2 separate regions of the Homo sapiens genome follow, and region 2 is linked to region 1. Evidence: promoter capture Hi-C in 16 types of primary human blood cells and fetal thymus (Javierre and others, 2016). All regions are on one chromosome and are shown on one strand. Each heading gives the region's core, a stretch centred on a gene start or on the middle of the fragment in contact. The rest is flanking DNA. Distances are from core to core; before and after follow the strand shown. Region 1 holds the start of SNAPC3 (small nuclear RNA activating complex polypeptide 3). Region 2 holds the start of CAAP1 (caspase activity and apoptosis inhibitor 1).

Region 1 (6,899 bases), core at 2,291-4,790:
ACACGTATATTACAGATGTGATGAGCATTTCAATAGGGAAGCATAGGGTGCTACATGAGCATACAAGATGACCTAAATGGAGTCCGTAGTCCTTTAGCTAAGACTTGCAGGATGAGTAGAAGTCAACAAGGTCAGGAGATAAGCAAGAATGACTGTTCTGGGCAAAGGCCTGGAGTGAGAGAGCATATTCGAGGAACTGAAACACAGTGCAGTGTGGCTGGAACACTGCAGAGAGAAAGCTTAAAAAAAATCAGCAAGGTCGGGCCAGGTGCGGTGGCTCATATCTGTAATCCCAACACTTTGGGAGGCCGAGGTGGGTGGATCACGAGAGGTTGGCCAACATGGAGCCTGACCAACATGGAGAAACTCCGTCCCTACTAAAAATACAAAATTAAGCGTGGTGGCACATGCCTGTAATCCCAGCTACTTGGGAGGCTGAGGCAGGAGAATCACTTGAACCTAGGAGGCGGAGGTTGCCGTGAGCCGGGATCGCACCATTGCACTCAGGCCTGGGCAACAAGAGTGAAATTCCATCTCAAAAACAAAACAAAATGAAAACAGCAAGGTCCACTCCTTAGAGGCCTTTGTGAGCCACTACAGACTCAGGACTTCAGCCTAAGGGACATCAAAAGGTTTTAGGCAAGGGAGTGACAATCAGATGTGCATTTTAGACAAATACAACTAATCAATCAACAATAGTTACAGAGCACCAATTGGAGCAAGGCAGTATAGTAGGCTTGAGAACAATACACAGATGGGAGTTTGGACTCTCATTGAGCCTTCAAGGACTTTAGAAATGTTAAGAGTTTAAGGCAGTATAAATGCATCTGTTTCCTAAGGGAAAGATGGGTTGTGGTAATCTGGAAAGGAATCTTTGGGCTTTTAAAAAAGTGGTATGGGCAAGGTGTGGCGGCTCACGCATGTAATCCTAGCACTTTGGGAGAACGAGTTGGGCAGATCACATGAGGTCAGGAGTTGAAACCAGCCTGGCCAACATGGTGAAACCCGTCTCTACAAAAAATGCAAAAAAGTTAGGCAGCCGAGGGTGCAGGCACCGGTAATCCCAGCTACTCCGGAGGCTGAGGCAGGAGAATCGCTTGAACCCGGAGGCAGAAGTTGCAGTGAGCAGAGATCACGCCACTGCACTCCAGCCTGGGCAACAGAGTGAGACTGCATCTCAAAAAAATAACGTAACATAACATAACATAGAAGTGGTATGTTTCAGATGGGAGAGAGGCCACATGCATCCTGAGCCATCTGAAAGAGAAAGTGGTTGAAAATAAATCTGGAAAGGCAAATTTGGGATATATGTGGAAGGCTTCAAATGTCTAGCTAAGGAGTTTGAAATTTTTCCATATAGGAGATGTAGGGCCATAGACCATTTTTAAGCAAAATGGCTTGCTCAGGCGACAGCATGATGGATAAATCAGTGGGAGAAATGACTGTACTTATCAAAGACACTTAAGAACCTTGCACAGTGCTCCAGGTGTTGCTGCTGTAAAAGTCAGCAGTAGGGACCAGGGGAACAGATTTAGCAGTTATTATGAAAGAAAACCCAAGTAGAGTTGAAATGACTGCCTGAATATTTGAGGGGGATAATAGCGTAGGATCAAGAACGACAGAACATAGCTGAGGTAGTATGAAATAAGTGGACTATAAATTGGAAATTATAAATTTCACTATTACATGCACAATTTCTCTATATTATCATACAACAGTGCCTCTCAAAGAGTGGTAGGCAGACCAGAATTCATCTATGACCTATTTGTTAACCAATCTGTACAGAAAATGACAGTAAGCATTTAGAAACTTCCATTATCATTGAATAATTTTGTCTATTGAATTTAATTAAAAATTTGAACTTATATTGTGTTTGTCTTTTTTAATTCCATTTTTCTAGTAATTCTTTTTATAGTATTTTATCAAAGCATAAATCTGTCAAAGATTAAAAATTTTTAAAAACAAGAACTGTCCTTTACCACAAATAGTTTGAAAAACACTGTCAGAGTATTTAGGTTGCCCCCCAGATCTAAGTAGATTACCTCTATAAACAAACATTCAAAAATATTAAAAAATAAACACAAGTTTGAATATGGACTGAATATTATAGATTATGTATTTACGGTTTTCTTAGGTATAATAATACCACAATAATTATGTAGGAGAATGATACTTTTAGAAGCTATATGCTTATGTATTTACGGGTAAATTATCATGTCTAACTTACTGAATGGGGGATAGCAAAATGAAAAAACACACAGCAGGCATCCCATACACACGGCTAAAGTAAATATGGTCAAATATTAAGAACAGCTGAATTTAAGGGGTGGGTATACAGACAACAATCAATACTGCACTTTCAACTTTTCAAAACATAATGTTGAAAAAATGTTTAAATAAATAGGTCATAAAAACCAAGTCCTCCATACCCCAAAGTCACCAGGTCAGTATTCTCCGGAATGACTTCTGGATCCTCACCGTCCTCAAGGCATTTCAGTTTATCAAGGCTAAAACAAAAAGGAAAAGCAATACTTTAAGGTCGACTCTGCATCTGGTTCACAGCGAGTTAGGGTTGTTTTCCTAAATACATTACTGAATTACGAAGTCAGATAAAATCCAGCAGGCGGCTCAGAGAGGCCAGAACTTAAGACAACGATTTCTGTGATTATATTTTATAATGAAAAGGCCGATGAAGGCAGCCAGTACTGTTAAATGGAGAAAGAGATTAAAGTTATTTTTATATTTTCATCCCCAAATAAGGCACTTTTAAGAAATATTTCAGTAACAGAATACCCGGAAGGTCCCCAAAAGAAACCAGTTAGTCGGGGTTTTAACACTCCTCTGATGAAGTCTCCCGCAGCTTCACCATTACTCAGGTTCCTCCATTGTCAAAGTGTCTGTCAATGGCAGGTACACGTCGCTGTTGCCCTGATTGCTTTTCTTTATTAACAAGCACTCTTAGAATAAGCAAATGGAAAAACTAGTCTTTGATGCAGCTGTCTTGTCCCTTTGCTCCAACTCGTAGAAACTGTGCATTCGGGTCCCAGGACTTCTCCTGGTGTCCCAGGAAGGCTCCAGCGGGTTGAAAGCTTTAAAGGGTAATACTCCTAGCCCAGGTCTAAACCACAGGCCCTTCTCAGGGATGAGTCCCAGAGGAGCGCACGAGCAAGGCTGCACCCTGTTTGACCCCAAGCTGCAAGAGCCCCTTTGCTCCGCACTCACCCGCACACCGCCCTCAGCTCAGCCGCCGCCTCCAGGCTGCAGTCCAGATCCCTGGCCACCGCGGCATCCTCCCGGTCGGAGTCAGCTGCCTGGCTCCCAGGCAGAGCGGATGCCGGCGGCTCCCTCAGCGACAAGTCCCCGGCCCCGCGCAGACGGCCCCGCCACAGCTCCCCAAAGGCGCCCACATGGAAAGCGCGCGTATTTAGCTCGGGAAGCTCATACTCTGGAAAGTTGCAGCCGCCACTGCCGGAGACTGGGTCCTGCCTGCCACCCACCCCGCTACACGTAGGGCCACCTCGGCTTCCTTCAGCCATGTTCGCCCCACTCCTTCCCCTGCAAAAGCCTGCAGATCAAGGCCTCGCAGAGCGTGATGGAAGTTGTAGTTGCTTGGGGCGCCCGGCCGGCGAGCGGCGAGGCGGCGCGGGCAGGGCATCAGAAACTACATTTCCCGGCAGGCCATGGGCAGGCCCGCCCCAGGGCGCGGCACCGCGAGGCTCTACGTGCAGGGCGCAGCATTGTTCTCCGACCCGGGCGGTGCGGGAACCGTTGCGGCTGTCGGTTAACCGCAGCGGGTGGGGCTGGGTTTCTGGTCCCCGAGTTACGTAGCAACTGTCTCTGCCCGGTAGGGCGGCCTCGCCAGGCGCTTAGGCCCCGTTCCTTGCGGCTTTCGGACTAAGGGGTGCAGGGCTTTTTCTTGACTGGGGTTCAAGGACTGCTCTGCTGCCTGATTGCTTTAGAGCCTAAGAAACAAGGAGGGCGAGGGCCGAGACCAGGGACACGACCAGCCCTCCAGATCTGGTTCTTTCACAAGCTCCGCAGAGGCCCCATGTTGGTGTGCGTGTGCAGTAGTGTTTCAGAGCGTCTGTGTATCACACGCTACATGATTAACCCTAATGTATGTTTTTAATGTTTTTAAAAATTACAACAACCTTTCCGGATAGGGCGTATCACCCCGTGTTGCTGTTGAGGAAGGATTTACCTGCGGGGAAAATAGAAGCAGGATCGGAACTCAGTCTGGCTTCAGATGGAGCTCTCTCCATTTCTCAGAGGCCCTGAAGGATACAGCAGGACATACTATTTATTTATTAGACTGTAATCACATGCCATATAATTCACCCATTTGAAGTGTTCAGTGATTTTTGGTATATTCACAGGCTTGGGCAACCATCACCACTATTTGAGAGCATTTTTACCACTCGAAAGAAGAAACTTGTACTTTTTAGCTATCACCCCTGATCCTCCCAACTCCTCCAGCCCTAGCCAACCAAGAACCTACTTTGTCTCTCTAGATTTAACTAATCTGGACATTTAATATAAACGGAATTATATGGTCTTTTGGTGGCTGGCTTAATGTTTACAAGGTTTGTTACAGGTAGTTAGGCATGAGCAGGGCAGGAGAGGGCTCTTCCCTCACCCACTAGGAATGTGGGGTGATGCTTAGGCATTTATCACATTGCCTCTAAAAGTGATAAATTGGCAGCCGGTGCCAGGGAGAGGCCATTTCCTGATGGCCCACACCTGTTGCACTAAAGTGCTCGTTGAATGCAGGTGACAGGGAGAAGCAACTTCCTGGGCATATGCATTAAGAGACAAAATCGGGGAGTATGACCTTTCAGGGGGACTCTATCGGAAAAGGGAAGAAAGCCTCAGATGGGCACGCATACAACTTCATACATATTGCGCTGTGCTCACTTCCCAAGGGTAAGGAGGGCACTGCGCATGGAGGCAGCCCACCCTAAGGGAAGAATCATGGGAAAGGAGCCAGCCTGTAAAGTCCTAGGATCGAGGTCAATATCACAGTTGACCTCAGTGACAGCTTGGGACTCTTCCGAGCGTGCTTTCCTTTCTTTCCTAAAGGCCTTTTAAATAAGCTTCCACTCCTGCTCTGAAACTTGCCTCAGTCTCTTTTTGTGCCTTATTGCCCCTCGGTCAAATTCTTTCTTCTGAGGAGGCAAGAACTGAAGTTGCTGCAGACCCATACAGATTTGCCCTGGTAACTTGGATACCTGCCACCTGTAACACGTTCATCCATTTTGTAGTATGTGTCAGTACTTCATTCCTTTTTTGGCTGAATAATATTGCATTGTATGTATATGCCACATTTTATTTATCAAAAAGTTTTTACCTTTTGGCGTTGCTATGAACATTCATGTACACATTTTTGTGCAAATACGTTTTCATTTCTCTTGGGCATGTGCCCAGTAGTATACAGTCAGCCCTCCCTATCTGTGGGTTCTGCATCCTCCAATTCAACCAACCACATATCAAAAATTACAGTATTCCCAGGTTGCAGAACCTGAGGATAAGAGGAATTTTCCTATGGGCGGATTCCACAGGGCTGACTGCAAGAAGAGCATCTGTCAATTTTGGAGTCCACAGGGGTCTTCGAAACAGTCCACCCTGCAGATACCAAGGGATTTCTGTATTTATGGAACTCTATTTTCAACTATTTGAGGAACTGCCAGATTTTTTTAAAGTGGCTGTCCCATTTTACTCCCCTCCCCAGCAGGATTCTCCACATCCTTGCCAACACTTATCTGAACTTTTTATTATAACCGTGTCAGTGAGTGTGAAATGGTGTTTCATGACTTTTTATTTGCATCTCCCTAATTATATTGATGGAACACGTTTTCATGTGCTTATTGACCATTTGCATATTTCTTTGGGGAAATGTATATTCAAGTTCTTTACCAATTTTTAAATAAAGTTATTGTGTTTCCATAGGAGCTCTGGTTTTTTTTTTCTTTCTTTTTTTTTTTTTTTTTTTTTGTTTTGAGACAGAGTTTCCCTCTTATTGCCCAGGCTGGAGTGCAATGGTGCGATCTTGGCTCACCGCAACCTCTACCTCCTGGGTTGGAGCGATTCTCCTGTCTCACCCTCCTGAGTAGCTGGGATTACAGGTGCATTCCACCACACCTGACTAATTTTTTTGTATTTTTAGTAGAGATGGGATTTCATCATATTGGTCAGGCTGGTCTAGAACTCCTGACCTCAGGTGATCCGCCCACCTCTGCCTCCCAAAGTGCTGGGATTACAGGCGTGAGCCACTGCGCCCGGCCTTCTGGTTGTTTTGTTGTTGTTTGTTTGTTTGAGATAGTGTCTTGCTTTGTCACCCAGACTGGAGTGCACTGGCACAATCAAGGCTCACCGCAGCGTGTCAGGCCTCTGAGCCCAAGCTTAGCCATTATATCCCCTGTGACCTGCACATATACATCTAGATGGCCTGAAGCAACTGAAGAACCACAAAAGATGACATTCCACCATTGTGATCTGTTCCTGCCCCACCCTAACTGATCAATTGACCGTATGACAATACACCCTCCCCGCCCTTGCGATAACGTACTTTGTAATATTCTCCCTGCCCTTGAGAATGTACGTTGTGAGATCCACCCCCTGCCCACAAAAAAATTGCTCCTAACTCCACCGCTTATCCCAAACGTATAAGAACTAATGATAGGCTGGGTGCCGTGGCTCACGCCTATAATCCCAGCACTTTGGGAGGCCGAGGCAGGAGGATCACAAGATCAGGAGTTCGAGACCAGCCTGGCCAATATGGTGAAACCCCTTCTCTACTAAAAATACAAAAATTAGCTGGGCGTGGTGGCAGGTGCCTGTAGTTCCAGCTACTTGGGAGGCTGAGGCAGGAGAATCGCTTGAACCTGGGAGGCAGAGGTTGC
Region 2 (6,899 bases), core at 1,754-4,253, about 11 Mb before region 1:
TGCTGAACTAAGTGCAGACAACTGATCAGTACAGCGCACTACAGCCCAGAATTTCTGGCCTCAAGCAATCCTCCCCAGTTTGCCTCTTGAGTAGCTTGCACTGCAGGCATGCACCACTGTACCAGGCTTTTTTTTTTTTTTTGAGACGGAGTCTTGCTCTGTCGCCCAGGCTGGAGTGCAGTGGTGCGATCTTGGCTCACTGCAAGCTCCACCTCCTGGGTTCACGCCATTCTCTTGCCTCAGCCTCCTGAGTAGCTGGGACTACAGGCGCCTGCCACCACGCCCAGCTAATTTTGTTTTTGTATTTTTAGTAGAGACGGGGTTTCACCGTGTTAGCCAGGATGGTTTCCATCTTCCTCATGATCCACCCGCCTCGGCCTCCTAAAGCACTGGGATTACAGGCGTGAGCCACCATGCCTGGCCCAGACTCTTCTTTTAATAAGGACACCAGTTATATTAGATTAGGGACCCACCCTTATGACTTCATTTAACCTTAATTACCTCCTTAATGACCCTATCTCCAAATTCAGTCACATTGGGGTTAGGGATTCAACATATGAATTCTGTGGGTGATGTTATAGGACCATCAGGTTCTATTAACCACTACATGGTACCAGACCAATACATGGAAACAGCAGGAGTTGCAGCAGAGAAAGAGTTTAATAATGGTATGCCAGCCAAGGGAGAAGATGGGAGGGAACCTCAAATCACCTCCCCAGTAAGTTTTTGGACAGGGGTTTTTAAGGGAATTTTGGTGGGTAGGGGGCTGAGGAGCTAGGGGTTGCTGATTGGTTAGGGCATGGGGGATGTAATCATAAGGAGGTAGAAAGTGCATTCTTGTGCTGAGTTCGTTTCTCAGAAGGGGTCTTCAGACTGAGTAGCATCAGTGACCCCACTGATATGGTTCCAATGACTGGAGGAACACCACAGTCTTTTGTCTCGTGCTGGTTTAAATAAAACGATACAGACACAAGTGGAATTGTTTTAAGGAGCGGAGAATTTAATAGGCAAGAAAGAAGAGGCTCCCTCATACAGAACCAGAGGGAAGAGGGCTCCCAGATGAAAGAGGGAACCTTGGGTGCAGCAGACAAGAGCCAGTTATATTATGAGGCTGGAGGAGGTGGTGACTAATTTGCATATGACCCAGGGAATTGGTTTGACCAGGTATGTCATTCACGTAGCCTGCAAAAAAAGTGGCCCTCCCACCCTAGCCTTTTAATATGCGAATGTAGGGTGCCACAATGTTCTACACATGTGGGGATATGTGGGGATGGCCATGTTGCTAGGCACATGTGGGGACAAGAAGAAGAGGGGAATCGCCATACTGAGTAAACCCAGTTTCTAACGGCCTGCATTTGCATATCATAGCTTGCCAGCCCAGCTTTTTTGCTAGACAAGAAACATTTCTGGAGCTGCTTTAAAAGAAAAAAAACTTCCCAAAGACCCCTTTACCTCTCTATCTGCCTAAAATAATTTCTTAACTTCTGTAACACCATTGGAGTACAGAATCTGGTAAATATCTCAAAATGGAAAACTTGAGATTTCTTAACCGAGTCAAAGATATCTATAAAGCAATAAGCAGCTATAAGGAAGTGGGCTATAGGAAAAGTTGGTTAACGTTTAGCTATGCTTCTACTAAAAGCTTATCTTTTGTCACAAATCCAGCAATTTGGCAGGGCACGATGGCTCACGCCTGTAATCCCAGCACTTTGGGAGGCTGAGGCGGGTGGATCACCTGAGGTCGGGAGTTCGAGACCAGCCTGACCAACATGGAGAAACCCCTTGTCTACTAAAAATACAAAATTAGCCCTGCATGGTGGCGCATGCCTGTAGTCCCAGCTACTCAGGAGGCTGAGGCAGGAGAAATGCTTGAACCCGGGAGGCGGAGGTTGCAGTGAGCCGAGATTGTGCCATTGCACTCCAGCCTGGGCAACGAGAGTGAAACTCCGTCTCAAAAAAAAAAAAAAGAAAAAAGAAAAAATCTAGCAATTTAGTTTTATTAAAATTATGATGGTTTCAGGGACACAATTCATAACAGGTTTATAAATGTAACATGTTATTAATTTTATGTGTTTTTCCTATCTGTGAACACAACACTCTCAATCCTTTCAGGTATGACTCCAATGAGTGTGATACTTAACGGAACTCCTGGGAACACAGTGGGCTCAGCCCCAGGATTTACCTTACAAGGCCAATTTAAGAGTGGGGCCTGGGGGAAGACAGTTTTCCTAGGGCTGGAAGTGTCCCTATTTATTAACCCTAGGCTGGTTTTAGGCATTTAAGTAGTTGTTGAATGACTGAGACAAATAGGAGACAAAGAGAAGGGAAGCTTCTTTAATTGCTTCTTACCCCAGGGAAAGGCACAGAATTACTACCACCCAGCTAGCTTTGCCCCAGGCTCTACCTTTTTCCCTCAGTGGCTAAAGGCCCCTGCTGAAACGACAAAGACCTTGGTTCACGTTTTAAGTGTTCTAGCTCCCTTGTCTTAAAATCTGCCTTCTATTTAGATTACATCCACCCATAAAATCTCATAAAGCTTTGACCCATTCTCAATTTTCAAAAACGAACTCAAGCTCTACTTGTCCATGTCAGACTCTACGCAAGAAATACCTAATTTGCCCAGGTGATGAGGAAAATGAGATGGAACAACTTTTCCCTATTCTCTTTATTGTCATAGCGTTGTTAATATCTTAAGATTTGGAGGTAAACGGAAATGGAGAATCAGCAACTATACTTCAACCTTATTGTAAACAGACAAAACACTAACAATAAAAAGTTTTGAAGTTAAAAGGACGTAAGTTCCACCTTCTATCCTTTGTAGAGATATAAAAACAAAACAAAACAAACTCTGACTAGACAGGCTACCCGCTACACACTCAAATCGACCTCCGCGACCGGAGGGGGAAGCGCAACTGGTTATGGCAACCCCCCTGCCACCCCGGCCCATAACGCTTCACCACGTTCTGTGCCACGGCCGGAAGTGACGCATAACCTGCGACGCCAGTGCCTGCCGCCCACGGCCGCAGGAGTCGGGCTTCGGTCGCACCAGAGACAGCGGACTTTCCTCCGATGGTTGCAGCAGAGGGATCATGACGGGGAAAAAGTCCTCCCGGGAGAAACGGCGCAAACGTAGCAGTCAGGAGGCGGCCGCAGCGCTCGCGGCCCCGGACATCGTACCCGCGTTGGCCAGCGGCAGCAGTGGAAGCACTAGCGGCTGCGGGAGCGCCGGGGGCTGCGGGAGCGTCAGCTGCTGTGGGAACGCCAATTTTAGTGGAAGTGTCACCGGCGGTGGGAGCGGCGGCAGCTGTTGGGGCGGGAGCAGCGTGGAGCGCAGCGAGCGCCGGAAGCGGAGGAGTACCGACTCTTCCAGCGTCTCGGGCTCCTTGCAGCAGGTGCGTGCGCGCCCCTCTGGCCGCTTCCTGGAGCTGCTGCTTTTTCGGAAGAAGTCGGGCTTCCAGAGGGATGGGGCGCAGGCTGGAGCTCACTGCTAGCGCGGCAATCTCAAGGTCGTCCGTCCTTGAGGTTCATGTTCCTACCTAAGTCCTGGTGAGCCCCACACTCCCATCCGTGTCTTGAATCTTGAACTTCAAGTTTCTGGATTTCCTGATCACTTTTTTTTTAATTTATTTTTTAAACTCTTGGCTCCTTCCACTCCTATGGTTTCACTCTGCCGGAAGAATACGAGTTGGAAGCTAGCCTTCATTTCCCTTGCGAGCCAAACACTTCTCCCTTCGTCTTCACCTTTTCGTAGATATGGTTAACTCCGCATTAGAGATAAGAAAATTGAGGCCCAAAGAAGTTAAACTTTACCCACGGTCACAGAGTTTGTTAATAGCTCCTAGGTTTGAATCCAAATATCTGACTACAAAAGCCATGTTCTTTATACGCCACCAGTCTGCCAAGAGAACGCCGTTTTAAAAAAGTTCATAATTTGTTTGAAAACAAATGAATGAATAGGTACTTTAAATTCATTCAATGAGGAAATAAAGGGAAAGCGTCAAGTCCCTTTTCTTGCCCCTCCATTAGTATTTTGATACGCGGCCTCTTTTAATCACTCCTCGTGAGATACGTGTTTTTAAGTTCCTACACTTAAGCTGTATTGTGTTATTCCCGCTGTTGAATACCTGCATTGTTGTGATAGGCTTCTTTATATACGTGGTTTGTTATTTTTACTGACTGCCTGGTATTGTATTATATTTTTCTGATATTTGGGTGTGCAGGTTTTTTTGTATTGTTGTGACTACAATACAAACACCTTTATGTATATATCTCCTACAAGAGTTATGTTGGGAGAGAGTGTGAGAACTGAAATTCCTGGGTCAAAGTTTATGCTATTAAAAACTTATGAATGCCACCAAATGCTTTCCAAATGAGACTTTACAGATTTATAGTCCAAACAGTATATATATAAGAATACCTATTTCTGAGATTCTTAACTAGCTTTTGATGACATTTTGATGGCATTTTTTAAAAAAATTGCCAGACTAGTGGGTCAAATTAATAGTTTGTTTTAATTTTTATTTTCCTTATTAGTGAGATTGAACATTTTAATATTTTTATTTGCCATTTGATTTCTTCTTATGTAATTTTCTGTACATATCCTCTGCTCATTATTCTCTTTGGTAGAGTAGAAACAGTTTATGTAGAGATTTTATCAGGTGGTTTTCTGGCATTCTGTTGAGATGATCACATACTTTTTCTCCTTTAGTCAGATAATGTAATTTGTTGATAAGTTAGTTGATGTTGAACAGTCTTTGGAGTCTTGGGACAAGTGCTGTTTGGTTTGTTGAGTTTGTTGTACTTGGCTGGAATTCAGTATTTTTACTTTCATGTATGTGTTTCTTTTTTTTTGTTTTTTTTGAGACGGAGTCTCGCTCTGTTGCCCAGGCCGGAGTGCAGTGGCGTGATCCCGGCTCACTGCAAGCTCCGCCTCCCGGGTTCAGGCCATTCCCCTGCCTCAGCCTCCCGAGTAGCTGGGACTGCAGGCGCCCGCCACGACGCCCAGCTAATTTTTTGTATTTTCAGTAGAGACGGGGTTTCACCGTGTTAGCCAGGATGGTCTTGATCTCCTGACCTCGTGATCCACCCGTCTCGGCCTCCCAAAGTGCTGGGATTACAGGCGTGAGCCACCGTGCCCGGCCAACTTTTATGTATATGTTTCTAAATTAGATCAGACTGTAGTTTTTATTTTTGTAATGGATTGAATTAGGAAGCTTTGTGTTTTTTTGGTGTGTTCTAGAATGGTTTATATTTTCTTCTCAAATATTTGTCAGAAGTATCTGGGTCTAGTGGAGTTTTTTAGAGTGATTTTTTAAGACACTCTTTAAAAAAATTATTTAATATAGATCTATTCAGTTTTCCCACCCCTTCTAGATTCAGTTTTGGATATTACCATTCTTATTTTAAATAGTTTCCTTTTTTTTTTTCTTTTTTTGAGATAGGCTCTCACTGTGTCGCCCAGGCTGGAGTGCAGTGGCACCATCTCAGCCCACTGCAACCTCCGCCTGCCAGGTTCAAGTAATTGTCCTGGCTCAGTCTCCTGAGTAGCTGGGATTACAGGTGCCCGCCACCATGGCCAGCTAATTTTTGTATTTTTAATAGAGGTAAGGTTTTCACCATGTTGGTCAGGCTGGTTTCCAACTCCTGACCTCAGGTGATCCACTCGTCTCAGCCTCCCAAAGTGCTGGGATTACAGGCGTGAGCCACCGCGCCTGACCAGTTTCCCACTCCGTTATGATGGGGAGACCAACAACACTGGTCAATTGAATATTGAAAACATTTTGCGTACAGAACTAAACCCATCTTCTAATGAAAAATTAGTGTATTTGTGAAGAAAAGGTCATTGCATATTAGGCATGTAGATAACATTTCAAACTTTAGAGAGTGCCATTATATCTGTTGTGTATTGAGGTTCCTTTTTTTTTTTTTTTTTTTTTTGAGACAGAGTCTCGCTCTGTCGCCCAGGCTGGAGTGCAGTGGCGTGATCTCGGCTCACTGCAAGCGCCGCCTCCTGGGTTCACGCCATTCTCCTGCCTCAGCCTCCAGAGTAGCTGGGGCAACAGGCCTCTGCCACAACGCCCAGTTAATGCTTTTGTATTTTTAGTAGAGACAGGGTTTCACCGTGTTAGCTAGGATAGTCTAGATCTCCTGACCTTGTTATCTGCCCCCCTCAGCCTCCCACCTCGGCCTCCCAAAGTGCTGGGATTACAGCTGTGAGCCACTCTGCCCGGCCGAGTTCCCTATTTTCTTGGGAAGAACTTTATTGAAATGTAGTTGACATACTGTGCAATTCACCCATTTCACATGTACAGTTAAGTGATTTTGTATATATTCAGAGTTGTACAACCGTCACTACAGTCAGTTTTTGTTTTTGTTTTTGTTTTTTTGAGATAGAGTTTCCCTCTTGTTGCCCAGACTGGAGTGCAATGGCGCCATCTCGGCTCACTGCAACCTCCGCCTCCTGGGTTCAAGCAATTCTTCTGCCTCAGCCTCCCGAGTAGTTGGGATTACAGGCACCCGCCTCCACACCCAGCTAATTTTTCTGTTTTTTATTAGACACGGGGTTTCACCATGTTGGCCAGGCTGGTCTCGAACAGCTGACCTCAGGTGATCCGTTCGCCTCAGCCTCCCAAATTGCTGGGATTACAGGCGTGAGCCACCGCGCCGGCCTAGTCAGTTTTAAAATATTTTCATCACTCCAGAAAGCAACCTTATGTGTAACGTTTAGTTTATATAATATGTGGTGTTTTGTGTCTGGCATCTTTTACTTAACATAATGTTTTTAAGATTCATCCATGTTGTAGCACATAGGGTTCATTCCTTTGTATCACAGAGATTCATGCCTTTTTATGGTTACTATACCACATTTTGTTTTGTTTTTGTATAGCTGTACATATGTA

What was found. The method cuts DNA at HindIII sites, captures the fragments that hold promoters and counts their contacts. A CHiCAGO score of 5 or more calls a contact.
Region 2: the fragment with the promoter of CAAP1 here is called in contact with the fragment with the promoter of SNAPC3 in region 1 in 1 of 17 cell types (non-activated CD4 T cells); the score reaches 5.2 in non-activated CD4 T cells.

Annotation. Positions count from the first base shown.
Region 1 is chr9:15,419,517-15,426,415 of GRCh38, reverse strand. SNAPC3 (small nuclear RNA activating complex polypeptide 3) reads right to left here and starts at 3,540. Exons shown (of 9, transcript NM_001039697.2): 1 at 3,223-3,540; 2 at 2,430-2,507. The coding sequence starts at 3,536. RefSeq lists an enhancer at 3,064-3,183 and a silencer at 3,524-3,813. The HindIII fragment of the contact is 2,004 bases long and covers 3,092-5,095 here.
Region 2 is chr9:26,888,906-26,895,804 of GRCh38, reverse strand. CAAP1 (caspase activity and apoptosis inhibitor 1) reads left to right here and starts at 3,003. Exons shown (of 6, transcript NM_024828.4): 1 at 3,003-3,392. The coding sequence starts at 3,090. It also overlaps the pseudogene RN7SL100P. RefSeq lists enhancers at 2,774-2,843, 2,445-3,024, 2,974-3,193, 3,274-3,453, 3,025-3,604. The HindIII fragment of the contact is 2,677 bases long and covers 2,539-5,215 here.